Regions from separate parts of the Homo sapiens genome. Here all the other regions are linked to region 1. The links are contacts of gene promoters, found by promoter capture Hi-C in human tissues and cell types (Jung and others, 2019). All regions are on one chromosome and are shown on one strand. Each heading gives the region's core, a stretch centred on a gene start or on the middle of the fragment in contact. The rest is flanking DNA. Distances are from core to core; before and after follow the strand shown. Region 1 holds the start of TUBG2 (tubulin gamma 2). Region 2 overlaps ATP6V0A1 (ATPase H+ transporting V0 subunit a1). Region 3 holds the start of PSME3 (proteasome activator subunit 3).

The links. The method cuts DNA at HindIII sites, captures the fragments that hold promoters and counts their contacts. A contact is called where the count stands out against the background at its distance.
Region 2: a contact is called between a fragment that was not itself captured here and the fragment with the promoter of TUBG2 in region 1, in 1 of the 25 tissues and cell types used here (spleen).
Region 3: the fragment with the promoter of PSME3 here is called in contact with the fragment with the promoter of TUBG2 in region 1 in 2 of the 25 tissues and cell types used here (lymphoblastoid cells and neural progenitor cells).

The regions. Positions count from the first base shown.
Region 1 is chr17:42,656,940-42,661,163 of GRCh38, reverse strand. TUBG2 (tubulin gamma 2) reads right to left here and starts at 1,880. Exons shown (of 11, transcript NM_016437.3): 1 at 1,612-1,880; 2 at 1,218-1,330; 3 at 848-1,015; 4 at 457-525. The coding sequence starts at 1,660. RefSeq lists enhancers at 1,664-1,733, 1,784-1,853, 1,864-1,923, 1,281-2,048. The HindIII fragment of the contact is 23,957 bases long and covers 1-4,224 here.
Region 2 is chr17:42,517,694-42,521,912 of GRCh38, reverse strand. ATP6V0A1 (ATPase H+ transporting V0 subunit a1) reads right to left here. Exons shown (of 22, transcript NM_001130021.3): 22 at 1-886. The coding sequence ends at 793. Among named protein-coding and RNA genes, the nearest start is that of MIR5010, 5.6 kb to the right of the region's middle. The HindIII fragment of the contact is 4,137 bases long and covers 1-3,654 here.
Region 3 is chr17:42,831,039-42,835,461 of GRCh38, reverse strand. PSME3 (proteasome activator subunit 3) reads right to left here and starts at 2,065. Exons shown (of 11, transcript NM_005789.4): 1 at 1,789-2,065; 2 at 1,086-1,118; 3 at 885-947; 4 at 586-690. The coding sequence starts at 1,830. RefSeq lists an enhancer at 2,248-2,417. The HindIII fragment of the contact is 9,549 bases long and covers 1-4,423 here.

The DNA.
Region 1 (4,224 bases), core at 631-3,130:
AACAAAACATACTATTATTGCTCTAGTCCCTTAGGAAATTACATGGGTTATAAGAGCTGTAAGCCAGGAACATATCGCACCCAGCATGGGGAGAGATGGAGAGGCAGTCTCCAAGGATCTGGGGGAGAGACTTCGGCTTGGTTCATTCTCCATTCCCAAAACGCCAATGTCTCAAAGCTTCCTCTTATGCATCCAGGCTGAGGCTCCTTGGGAAGGTTTGGAGCTGGAGAAGCAGCTGAATGACTCATGCCTAAGGGGCCGGTGCCATTCAGATTTATGACTTCCTTGAGAACAAAGATTATATCTTATTCACCTCAATATCCCACATCTGATGCTCCATAAACGGGTTTTGAATTGAATTGCTCCCCTCATATTACCTATCCAGGCCACCTCCTGACCTGTCCCCAGCACTCTTCGGCCTCCCTGCCCATTCCTTCCCCCACTCCATAACTTCACCTCCAAACTGTCACTTCCATCTGCTTCTCGGTCTATGATGTCAAAGATGTCTTCATGAATTTTCTCACCCTGTATAGAGATATGGAAAGGGAGGGTCAGGCCAAAGGTTCCAGAGAGCATCTTTTCTCAGCACAGCACCAAGAATTCTGTCTACCCTGGAATATTGTTGCCACCCTGAAGCAGAGCCTAGGCTGTAGCCCTCAACCCAGAAGTGCTACTATTGCAAATGATTTGCACAAAATTTGCATAAACCTCTCCCTGGCTGTCCCTCTTGTTCGGGACATCCTTTTGTCTCTTATTTTCTGTCAGTCAGGTCAAATTCCTAGTAGCTTGAGCCTGCCTTGCCTCTGGATGGGAATATCAAAGGTCTCTGGAATGGTCGCTAGGACACCTGGGAGAATCCGCTGGCCCAGTTGTTGCCAGCTCCTCCTCCATGTTCCGACAGGTAGATGTTCTCTGGGTTGTAGAGCTTGGCATAGGGGGAGTTGAGGATGGAGTGGATCACCCGGGGTTCCAAGTCCAGCAGCACGGCCCGGGGGATGTAGTGCTCATCGTCTGCCTGTCAAGGGGAGTCCAGGAGGGGGCCCAATCAGCTAGGGCGGCCCAAGTCCGAAGTCCTCCCAACTCTGGCTCCCTCCGGCCCTCCCTCCTCAAGCCAGCCGCCTGGCCCTACTGCCCAGCGGGGTTCCCAGTACCAGGCCACTCCCTTCCCTTCCGCCCCCTTGGGCCACTGCCGCCCCCGGCCAAGTCGCTGGGGGCACCTGGTAGAAAAAGACGTCCTTGCGGTCAGTGCCCTCGGTGGCGAATTCCTCCACGATGCCCTCGGGGCTGATACCATGCTCGGCGCACAGCTGTTTCCAGAACTCGAACCCAACTGGGGGAGGGGGGAGATGCCCGGGTCTGCTGGAGCCTTAAGGCCTGAGGAGCCCAGTTTTAGTCTCAGAGGCTGACACGATCAGAGGGTGGACCCAAGATGCCTGGGTTTGGTAGCTGCCCCAGCCCCGGGCTGGAGGCGCAGCTCTCGGTCTGGGTTATCCAGAGCAGCAGGGCAGGGGGTTCATGGAAGGGAAAGGGGGACTGGTGGAAGCCAGGCACTTGGGTGGGACCCGAAGGGGCAGAACCAGAGACCGGCGGGGCCGGCGCTCGCTTGCTCACTCTGGTTGCCGCACTGGCCCAGCTGCAGGGTGATGATCTCCCGGGGCATCGCTCTTCAGACGTGGGCGCGCCAGCCCCGGCCTGGCGAGAGTCACGGCTGAGACGAATGCCCGGCAGCCAGGAGCGCAGGACGTGGGGAGCGCGCGCTCTCTTCGCCTCTTGACGCGGATGCTCGGTCTGCGCGTGTGCAGCGCAGGCCTCTCCTCGGCCGGTGGGCCGGGGAGCCCAACCTGGGCATCATTTTCTCCCTCAGCAGTCGCAGCTGGAATTCCGCACAGGCGCAGAGTCAGGCCACGCCCGCTCCTGCCCACCGCTCCGCGCCTGCGCAGTGAGACTCGTTGGGGGTGGCAGGGTCGGAACCTGGATGTGTTGGGGAGGAGAGGAACGGGGGAGGGGAGGAAAGGGGAGAAGCGGCCAGGTGGATGTGCTTGTCCACGTGTAAGGAGTCATCTACCTATATTGGTAGGTGAGGACACTGTCAGCTTTGCTAGATCAAAGGGCTAGAAGCCAACTTTTCTTCGTTTAAATTTCTGTTTTTTAATGGTGTTACAATACATACACATGTATGTTACCTTTTTATTTTTTAGAAGGGTCTCGCTCTGTCGCCCAGGCTGGAGTGCAGTGGCGCGATCATAGCTCACTGTAGCCTTGAACTTCTGGCTTAAGTGATCCTCCCACTTCAGTCTCCCGAGTAGCTGGGACTACAGGCGTGTGCTACCACGCCCAGCTAATTTTTAAATTTTTAAAATGTATTTTTATAGAGATGGGGATCTCACCGTGTTGCCCAAGATGGTCTTAAACTACTGGCCTCAATCAATCCTCCTGCCTTGGCCTCCCAAAATGCTGGGATTACAGGCATGAGCCACCACTCCTGGCCTAAATTTACCATTGTAACCATTTGTAAGTACTGCATACAGTTCTGTGGCACCAAGTACACTCACATTGTTCTGTAACCACCACCACCATTCTTTTCTAGAACTTTCTTATCTTCCCAAACTGAAACTCTATCGCGATTAAACAGTAACTTCCCCTTGACTACTCTAGGCACCTGATATGAGTGGAATTATACAGTATTTGTCTTTTTGGGTCTGGCTTCTTTCACTTAACATAATATCTTCAAGATCCTTCCATTTCGTAGCATGTGTCAGAATTTCCTTCCTTTTTACAACTGAATAATATTCCATTGTATAGATGTACCACATTTTGCATAACCATTCATCCCTCCATGGACATTTGGGTTGCTTCCACCTTTTGGCTATTGTGAATGTTGCTGCTTTGAATGTGAGTGTACAAATATCTGTTCGAGTCCCTGCTTTCAATTATTTTGGATATACACCCAGAGGTAGAATTGCTGGATCATATGGTAATTGTGTTTAATGTTCTGAGGAATCGCCATACGATTTTCCATGGTAGCTGCACCATTTTAAATTCCCACCAGCAATGCACAAGGGTTCAGTTAAATAAATTTTATAGGAGGCCATTGATTTGCACTGAGCTCCTGTGCTTGGCTCAACAGACCAAACCAAAATGGAGTCACTCACGCTAAAGTTCTATGTCACTAAGCAACACTAAGTTGTTTATCAAACCTTCAGAGGAATCAGGAGAGGGAAGGAAGAGCCAAAACCCCAAACAAGCCAGTGTGAGCCGGCATGATACGGAAGTCCTTTTACAAGAAAAGTAACTTTGAAAGGACCCATCTGCTTTTTTTCCTTCTGTTTCTATTTTTCTCTACCCTTTTTTGTCCATAAAAACTAACCTGTGCTTGACTCATCTGAACACTCATTCTATTTATTTTATGGAATGAAACGTAGCCTGATCTAGAATCACAAACACTGTAAATGCCACTTAAGATTTTTTTTTTTTTTTGAGACTAAGTCTCACTCTGTTGCCCAGGTTGGAGTGCAGTGGCATGATCTCGGCTCACTACAACCTCTGCCTCTCTCAGGTTCAAGCGATTCTCCTGGCTCAGCCTCCCTAGTAGCTGAGATTACAGGTGTGCACCACCACACCCGGCTAATTTTTTTGTATTTTCAGTAGAGACAGGGGTTTTGTCATGTTGCCCGGACTGGTCTCGAACCCCTGAGCTCAGGTAATCCACCTGCCTCAGCCTCCCAAAGTGCTGGGTTACAGGCATGAGCCACCATGCTCAGCCAAGTAGCCAAGTTACAATCTTTTTTTTTTTTTTTTTTTAGATGGAGTTTCGCTCTCGTTGCCCAGGCTGGAGTGCAATGGCTCGATCTCAACTCACCGCAAGCTCCACCTCCCGGGTTCAAGCGATTCTCCTGCCTCAGCCTCCCAAGTAGCTAGGATTACAGGCATGCACCATCACGCCCAGCTAATTTTGTATTTTTAGTAGAGACGGGGTTTCTCCATGTTGGTCGACCTCATGTGATCCACCTGCCTTGGCCTCCCAAAGTGCTGTGGGATTACAGGCGTGAGCCACCACGCCCAGCCTTTTTTTTTTTTTTTTTTTTTTGAGACGTAGTCGCACTCTGTAGCCCAGGCTGGAGTGCAATGGCTTGATCTCAGCTCAGTGCAACCTCTGCCTCCCAGGTTCAAGCAATTCTCCTGCTTCAGCTTCCCAAGTACCTGGGATTATAGGCACGCTCCACC
Region 2 (4,219 bases), core at 337-2,836, 140 kb after region 1:
GGGTGTGCTTGTGGGCAGGGCCCATGCAAGGCCTGGGAAGAAGCCAACCCCGAGAGAGGGAAGCCCTGTGCACTGCGGAGCAGCCAAGGCCTCTGTTCCAAGCATCCCGGCTGTGCTATGTAGTGCAGGGCATGAACGGGGAGAGAGGAAAGGATGGGAGTGCAGGGTGGGGTCAGAAAGGCGGTGTAGATATCCTATGACCCCTGGGGATGACAGGGAGAAGCCACTCATGATGGCCTAGTTGGGTCCAGCTGAATGCCAGGGGGGTGGGCAAAAGACGCAAATATCATCTTCCTGGACCCACCCCTGCTAATCCAAGAGTGGGACATGTTACCAGTGTCCCCTTCTAGGGAAGAATCTGTATTACTCCCCCCACTACTCCTGCTAGAAACTACGGTGGCAGATGCAGGGAACTCAAAGTCTAGATGTGAATGGCATGGGTGCTCCTTCCATCTACAATGCACGGGGAAGATGAAAGGGCTTTGGGATGGCGTGGGAATGCAGACTGGCTCACCACCAGGAGGTGGGAAGGGCTGTCTGGATGGATGGAGGCTAAGAGGGCAAGGCTGGTGCCCAGTGAGTATGAGTGACAGCCAGAAAATCACTACACTACACACAAAGCTAGGGGTGGTGGGAGACCCAAGGAGGACTATTCTATCTAAATGACTCACAGACAGGGTGACACGAATGAGCTGGTGCCCACAGATCACAACCAACAGGCAGAGAGGCACAGCTGATCACTGTGGAGGGAGGCGGGGAGGGTAGCATGGGGCACACGGCCCTCACAGGGACTCACTCTTCAAACTTCCCTTCCCGAATATGCTCGAAGGAGAAGGGTAAGAACTTGAAACCGGTCCCGCTGTAGAATTTATTCTGGAACTCAACCCTGGAGAAAGAGAAGAAGAAAGCTGTCATTCAATAGAAACTTTGTGAAGCTTTTTAGGACTTCACAGTTGGGCAGGAAAGATGCCCCGTGCCCACCTCACCCCGAGCCTCCCTTCCCTGGGGAAGCTAGAGAAAGCCCAGAGTGCAGAGATCCCACTTTTAAGGCCTGGGATCAAGAGTTCGACGCACGGAGGAAGGGATTTGCCCTCAGTTCCCAATCTTGCTCTGTCCTGCCGAGCAGTGTGTTTATGCACAACTCTCTGCAGAGAGGCATGTGCAAAAAAAGTTCAGTTACCTTGAGCCTAACATCGTTAATGAACAAGTGGCCCCCATCGCCCCCTCCTGGCAGGGGATCACACAGCCCACCTCTAAGGGAAGCCCCTCCAGAGACACTGGGCAAGCACCTCTGTTTGCTTGTTATTTTTCCTTGGGGGAGCAAAAGGGCGAGCTTGGAGTGAATGTTGAAGGCTTTCCATTTAAGGAAGGAAATTCCAAGGAAAGAGGGGGAGTTAGGAGGGGAAGTCTTCTCAAAGCAATGGCAAAAATATTCTCCAACCACAAAAACATCTGAGAAAGAATTCTTCTCTTGGGGACTAAAAAGAAAAAGCCTGAGCTCCCTTCCCAGCAGTTCAGCATCCATGCCTGATGGTCTCTGTGGGGCCCTTTCACTCTCAGGGAGGGTGGGAGGAAGACTGTCCCATAAGCAGAGCGAGGCTGCTTGGCTGTGCTTCCTCCTGCAAACTCACCCTGGACAGCTGCCCAGCAACCAAACCACACCAAATAAGGGCAGAAAAATGCATGATTCAGGGGATAAAAAGGCCAAGGAGAGCTGCCCTGAGGAATAGTTTCCACATGGTGCTGTGTGACCCTGGAGGCACCGGAGCCCCTATAAGAACAGGCAGGCGTGGGGGCTGGGGCAGGCTCCAGGTGACAGGTCACGTGCAGGGTGAGGGCTTTGAGGCGCTTTAAAGCTTCAGGAACCCTCTAGTTCCCTAACTCAGCTTTTACAAATGGAGATTCCTCCCTCCAAGCCAAGAAGGCAGGAATTAAGAGAACAGGGGCTGGGAGGTGGCTGGGGCCCAAAGGTTACAGACTGTTTGCCAGTGGCACTGGGAGTTCCTCAGAGGCCCCTTCACTGGGGTGCAGGCTGAGGAGCACCCCCTTGAAGAAGAGCGCAACCGAATTTTCTGAGTGGGAGTAAAAGCAGTCAGCTTTCTTCCCCACATCCCCACATTCCACAGGGGTGGGCCAAGGTCCTCCAGGAAAAACAGGACTCAGGAGGGGGAGGACACAGAGCTTCCAACTGACGTTAGCTGACGGTTCCCACCAGAGCAATTCCAAACCAGGACCTGGATTCACCCACGTCCCAACACCCCACCAAAACTACTTCTCCAAGTTCCAGCTACTGAGACCACCTCTGAGGGAACGCGGTGGGGCCTAGCAGTGGGTTCCTGCTTCTCACCCACTTGTGTTAGGTTTGAATTCTTCATGTTGAATAGACTGTGTTCCCATGTGGCAAGGGTTATTTCAGAACAGCTGAAACGAGATTTACATGTCCCCTTTTCATTCAACAATACATAGCCAGAGAGTGGACAAGTCACCTGAGGGTCCCAGGCCATTACCTAGGAGTGAATGTCAGCCTTGGTAGGGTATGCTGACCCCCGACTCCAGTGAGGTGTCCAGAACTCTGACCCCCACCCCCTCCTGGCTAATCACAAAACCATTCTAATCTTCAAACTGGGCAAATGGAGCAGCAGCTTTGTTTTCAGATGCCTGTGGGGGCACCGCCCTTTTCTTGGCACCCCTCCAGTCACCTTATCTACCCATGGGGGCCCAGCAAGGAGGAAGAGGGATATATGCCTGGGAGGGGCACATCAATTGTACTGTGTGAGCAGACAGGTGGCCTCCCTGACATACTGCCCAATACTGCCCCTCCCACCAGCTGCTGCTTTAGAGACTTAGAGCGGCCAGAACTGGGACATCTTGGGTCTATCTTGAGGTCAGCCTGATTTCACCTCCTTCCGTGGCCACCCTCACCCCAACCACCCAGCACAAAGCTGGAAAGCAATTTCCCTGCTAGTCTCCCCACTCTCTCCCGCTGAACTGGGGAAATGTGTGCTTCCTGAGAAAGTACAAACATGAAGTTCCCCAGGGCAAGGGGGGCCCCATCTGCCATCCTAGGTTCTTCCTTCTTTTTGGGCATCTCCACTGCTCTGCTCAGGGAGCCTCCAAAGTCTTGCCATGCCCCAAGACACTGAAATGCACCTCTAGAATTCAACAGCTGTGAGGAGAGCCTCAGGACGCCAGATGAGTGTCTCTATCATCTCTTCCAGCTCCAGCACTTGGCAAAGGCCACCTGGTGACTCAGAGGGATTAACTGGGGCCAAAAGACATCATTCATGCCACGTAACAGGAACTCTGTTTCCTCGAGTGGGTGAAGGAGGAAGGAGTCTTGGGGCCGCTTCCCTTCCCTGGTGGGGGTTGTGACTGAGGGCAGGCAGTCTGGAAAGACAATTCTGGGCTGAGCTGTTTATGTAGCCTGTTCTGCCACTCTCTGTGCCGTTCAGGGCCTACAACACACATCTGTCTGACGGCCTGAATATCAGGGCAATGATGGCAGCCTGGAACTACATTTCAAGAGTTCTGAGTTCTCCTGGGCAGCCATTCCCTCAACTGCTCCATGCTGTCATGCCGTGGCAACACTGCATTCCTAACAAGAAGCTGGTCCCCGATTCTGTCCCTTTAATCACCACCCAATCTGTGAGTGTACAGGTAGGTGTACATCTATGTGTATGTGGAATTCGCTAGGTAAGGAGAGACCAGGTTCCTTGGAAGGTATGCCCTGGGGCAATAGTTCTGCATAAAAATCAGTTTGATGTTTACAGTGATAACTACAATCAAATCCCTGTCTCATGCCTTCTCTGAGGAAGAAAAGATGTCTAATTATGGTAGGTAAGAAGCCAAGCACACTTCATGTGGCAGGAGGGAGGAAAAGAGAGAAAACTCAGGAGACAGAATTAGCAGATTAATACATTAGCCTGCTCACTGTTTTCAAACACATCACCCCCCTTCCTATGATGCTGCATGAATCTCACACTAGTGGTTTATATGTTATCGAATCAAATGTTTTTCTTATTGTCCCCACTGAGGAGACCAGAACTTGTATAATGGGGCAGCCCTTGAATCAGGAAACAGCAGGGATAAAGTGGGAGGTATGAAGATGCCTAGGATGGATGCCAGGAAGAACAGCAGCACCATCCCTACAGCTGGTTCAGCAGCCCCAGAGGCTCCACCCCTGGTAAGAGGGCCACAGCTCAGAACGCCTCCTGCAGTC
Region 3 (4,423 bases), core at 816-3,315, 170 kb before region 1:
GAGCCAAGGTGCCTGGCCTAAGCTAGTTCTCTTTTATTTGAAACTCACTCTAACACTGACAGTAGCATTAGCACATTCACTTCACGTCGTAAATGAAACTGAGGGTCTAAAAGGAATATACTGGAGTCCCCGTGCAGTGACTCACGCCTGTAATCCCAGCACTTTGGGACGCTGAGGCGGGTGGATTACTTGAGCTCAGGAGTTTGAGACCGGCCTGGGCAACATGGTGAAACCCCATCTCTACAAAAAATACAAAAATCAGTGGGCATGGTGGTGGACTCCTGTAGTCCCAGCTACCTGCGAGGCTGAGGAGGAAGGATCGCTTGAGTTCGGGAGGTCAAGGCTGCAGTGAGCAGCATTCCCGCCACTACACTCCAGCTTGGGCAAAAAAAGTGACACCCTTTCTCAAAAATAAATAAATAAATAAGAAATAAAAGAACTATACTAGAGTCATCATGTCTGTAACAGAGTCCTAGTTCCCAGATCCAAATCCCACTGTTCCCTCTGTACATCTTAAACTGACAAGGAAACAGAGGACAGAGGACCTACTGCTCAAGAACACAAAGATAAATATAGGACACTTACACCATCCAGTCCATCATGGCTATTGGTGAGAAGAATGGGGTCAGGGACTGGGAGATTCATGTCAGAGTGGATCTGAGTTAGGTCATGGATGTTTAAGATTGGTTCCTGAAAGACACCCACCCCAAAACATTAATCTTTTCAAGCTGAACAAAGAAGTATTTGATTTGAAGAGCAAGAAATGAAAGTGCTTTTACAGTTTAAAAAAATAAAAAGAAGAAGAATCAACAGTTTATCCCAGTTGACAGTAATACCAGGGCCAAAAAAATTGGGGAATTTGAGGAAAGAATAGGGTCTCTCACCTTCAGAAAACTATCAAGTTCTAATAACTTCTTTGGGAAAAAATTTGCCACCAAGTCTTCTGCCTAAGGAAGAGGGAAAATACAGCTGAATTAATATCTGTGGGAAGGTCTCTCTCTCTCTCTCTCTCTCTCTCTCTCTCCAGGTATCTCCTCTTTGGGAAATTCTCAACCAACAACCATTTTTCTATTTATTTCACTCACCTCACTTGTGATCCGCTCCCTGAAAGAATCAACCTAAAATTAACAAAGAGAGCAATTCAGTACCTGGGGACAGAGGTAAGAGCAGGATGGAGAATCCCAATCCAACTGTCTTTCCCTCACCTTGTAACTGTAATAAGAAGCTGAGAGGCCCCCAGACTGCAAATACTTTATTTTTTTGAGGATCCATTTTTCCATCTCAGAAGAACGCAGGGCTTTGAGGACAGCACCTGCCTGTCTCCTCTGTCCTCCCCCTTCCCTCCCTTCCTCCTGTGTCTGAAGCTGTCTGAATTTGATAAGCAGACAAAAGACAGGTAGTTAGGGAAGATGTGAGCTCACAAACGTGCCAACCCCCACCCAGACCTAGTCTATGATACTAGGCAGGCCAGCCGCCAAGGGCAGGGGCAGTGTCCAGGGACGTTGTTGGGCTGGGGGATTACCAGCTGTCACGGGCCTAAAGCCCTGAGTCCAACACGTGTCCGCGGAGGTGTCCCCGGGACTCTCCATCATCAGACGCGGTACAGAAAGCCATCCTATATTTTCCTCTCCCGCGAAGCCGACCCCGGGAGTTGGGGGCTGGGCTGAGCCGAGCGGAAGCTCAGAGCTGGTATCCCCAGGGAGACAAAGACGCCATGGGGAGTAGGAAGCCGGTCAGACTGCTGGGGGATCAAAGCGAGGGGCAAAAAGGCCGGACCGGTGCCGCTACCTTGAGCTTCACTTCCTGATCCACCTTCAGCAACGAGGCCATGGCCGGGCCGGGCCGTGTCCGATCCTCTGGACACCGGAGGCGCTGTGGACTCCAGGGAGGGGGCCGGAGGGACCTGAGAAATCTCGGCTGACCTCGGGACCCGACCGCCCTTGCTGGCTTACTCACTGCTCGCTCGCTCCCTCCCTCTGTGCCGTCCGCCCGCCCGCCGGCAGCCTGCTGCCTGCTTGCTCTCTCGCTCGCCCTCCCGGCTTTCGCCGCTCACGCCGGAAACTGCGTCACAGCCAATCGCCGAGACTCCTGCGAGGCTGTGCACGTGCGCTGCGCAGCCGCGATGAGGCATGGCTTTGGACGCTCCCAGCGGGGTTCACACTGCCGGGGTCAAGTGTCGGGTAGGGGTAAAGTAAAAAGGAGAGCTGTGGGGAATGGTGCGCTGAGAACTGAGCCTCCGAGAGACTCGGAAACGGTGCGGCCCTCTCTGTTGTCCCGGAACTCGCCTTCACCGAAGGGACCTTCTCAGCCGCTGCACTCCCGGGGACAACGCCGTCGCGCCCCAGTGACGTAGGCTCGGGGAAGTCGGGGACCCGGGTACTGGGTTCGGGGGTGTAGTCCCTGATTCCCGCTGCCTCTGCCCGTTTGCCGAGGCTCAAGTGTTTAGGCTAGAGCGAAAAAGACAAGCGCCGTTGTACCAAGCTTTCCTGGTACATTTCCCTGCCAACTGATTCTCGTAAGCTTCCAGACCTCAAAGATCAACTACCTAATTGGCAAATTGATCCCCAGAGTAGGGTAGGGCTTGTCCAAGGCGTTTCCAGTACATCCTGAGCCAGAACCCAGATCTCCTAACTTCTACGGCAGTGCTGTATCTATTTGCCTAGTGGAAGCATGAGACTATACCTCTTCATGCACCCATTCATTCGATCTCTCTCTCTCGACATTGGATATATCATTCAATAAAATGGGGCAGGGCACTGTGTCAGATTCTAGAAATATGTGAGTCACATATGTAGGTTGAAATCTTCTAGTAGCCACAATTAAAAAGTAAAACAAGTGAAAATTTTAGTCATACATTTAACCCAGTTTATACAAGTATTTCAACATGTAATCAACATTTAAAAATCGAGATCTTATGCATTCTTTTCTCATACCAAGTCTTCAAAATCCAGTGCGTATTTTACACTTAACTGCACATCTCAATAAGGCAACACCACATTTGTAGTACAGTGCTCAGTAGCCACATGTGGCTGCTGGCTTCTGTATTGAAGAGCACAGCTCTGGGAAATCAAAGGCAAACAAGATTCAAGGTCGCTGGTCCCATGGGGCATAATATTGGAAAAACACCAGAAAGTAAACTGACAAGGTAACTGCAAAATTTGATAAATGTTAGGGAAAAAGTGGATGACATAGAAAATACGAGAGATCTATTTTAGATCGAATGGCCAAGGAAGGCCTCTGAACAGGCAAGCTGTGATCTAAAGGATATAAAGAGGTTAGCATGGAAAGAGTGAGAAGAGCCTTGAGAGGTATAAGGGCAGCTCAGGCAAATGCTCTAGGGAAGGAAAGAGATTGTCTTGAAGACAAAGACTAGTGAGCTGAGGGTGAGGAGGGTTGTTAGTAAACAATCTAGATTAAGTGCAAAAGGAGGTCATCAGATTTGTATTTTGGGGTCGCTCTTGCTGTTGAACATTTATCCTAGGCTGGCCTCTCTACTAAGTGCTAGGAAAATGAGGGGAATACACAATTAAATGGAGTAAAGCACAGAAGACTGACTATGGCCTTTGGGATCAGAGACCTGGGCTTCAAATCCCACCTCAGCTCCTTACTAACTGGAATCTTGGGCAAATTATTGAAATGCTGAGTCTCGATTCCCTCATCTGTAAGATGGAATTTTAATAATTAGTAATAAATAATAGTATGTAATTTTGTAGTGTTGTGAATATTAGAAATAATATATGTAAAACAATTAGCACAGTGCTTAGACACAAAATAAATAGTAGCCACTGTCAGGTAAGTAAGTGATCTGTTAATGCTTAGCATGAAGAGGTTACTCCTTAAATTACAGTAATTATTTCCATTCCTGCTTTCAAGCTCAAAGTCCTTTTCAGCTTATAGAAGGCCACATATAACATCATGCTCTATCAGTTTTCCCCCTTTTACATGTTTTCTGTTAACACATTTCCCTGGGAACTTTTGAGATCCGATTTGAAACTTCAGGAATTATTTCCCACATTTACTCCATTCTATTTTAAGTATGCCACTATTCTTATTCCAGTCAGAATTTATAACATCAACTGGAAAAGCTAATATGTTTGTGCCTGTTAAAATATGCTTTGTTCTCAAATAATTATGTTTTGTCTCCTTCAAGTAGGTTATAAGACAGATACACATTCTCTTTATTTCCCTTCCTCCTCCCCATCCAAGTGTTTAATATAATACTCCATTCATTTGTTTATTCAGTGAACAACTGGAGAGTACCACTACACTTAACAATAACTATTCATTTCTGGGTGCTTACAAGTCACATGTGATCACTGATGACTGGTCTAATTTTAAATTCATGTCCCAAAATCTCAAATGAGTGCACAACACTGCCTGAGCTCCTACTACATGCTCCTGACAAGTTTGCTCTCCCACCCTC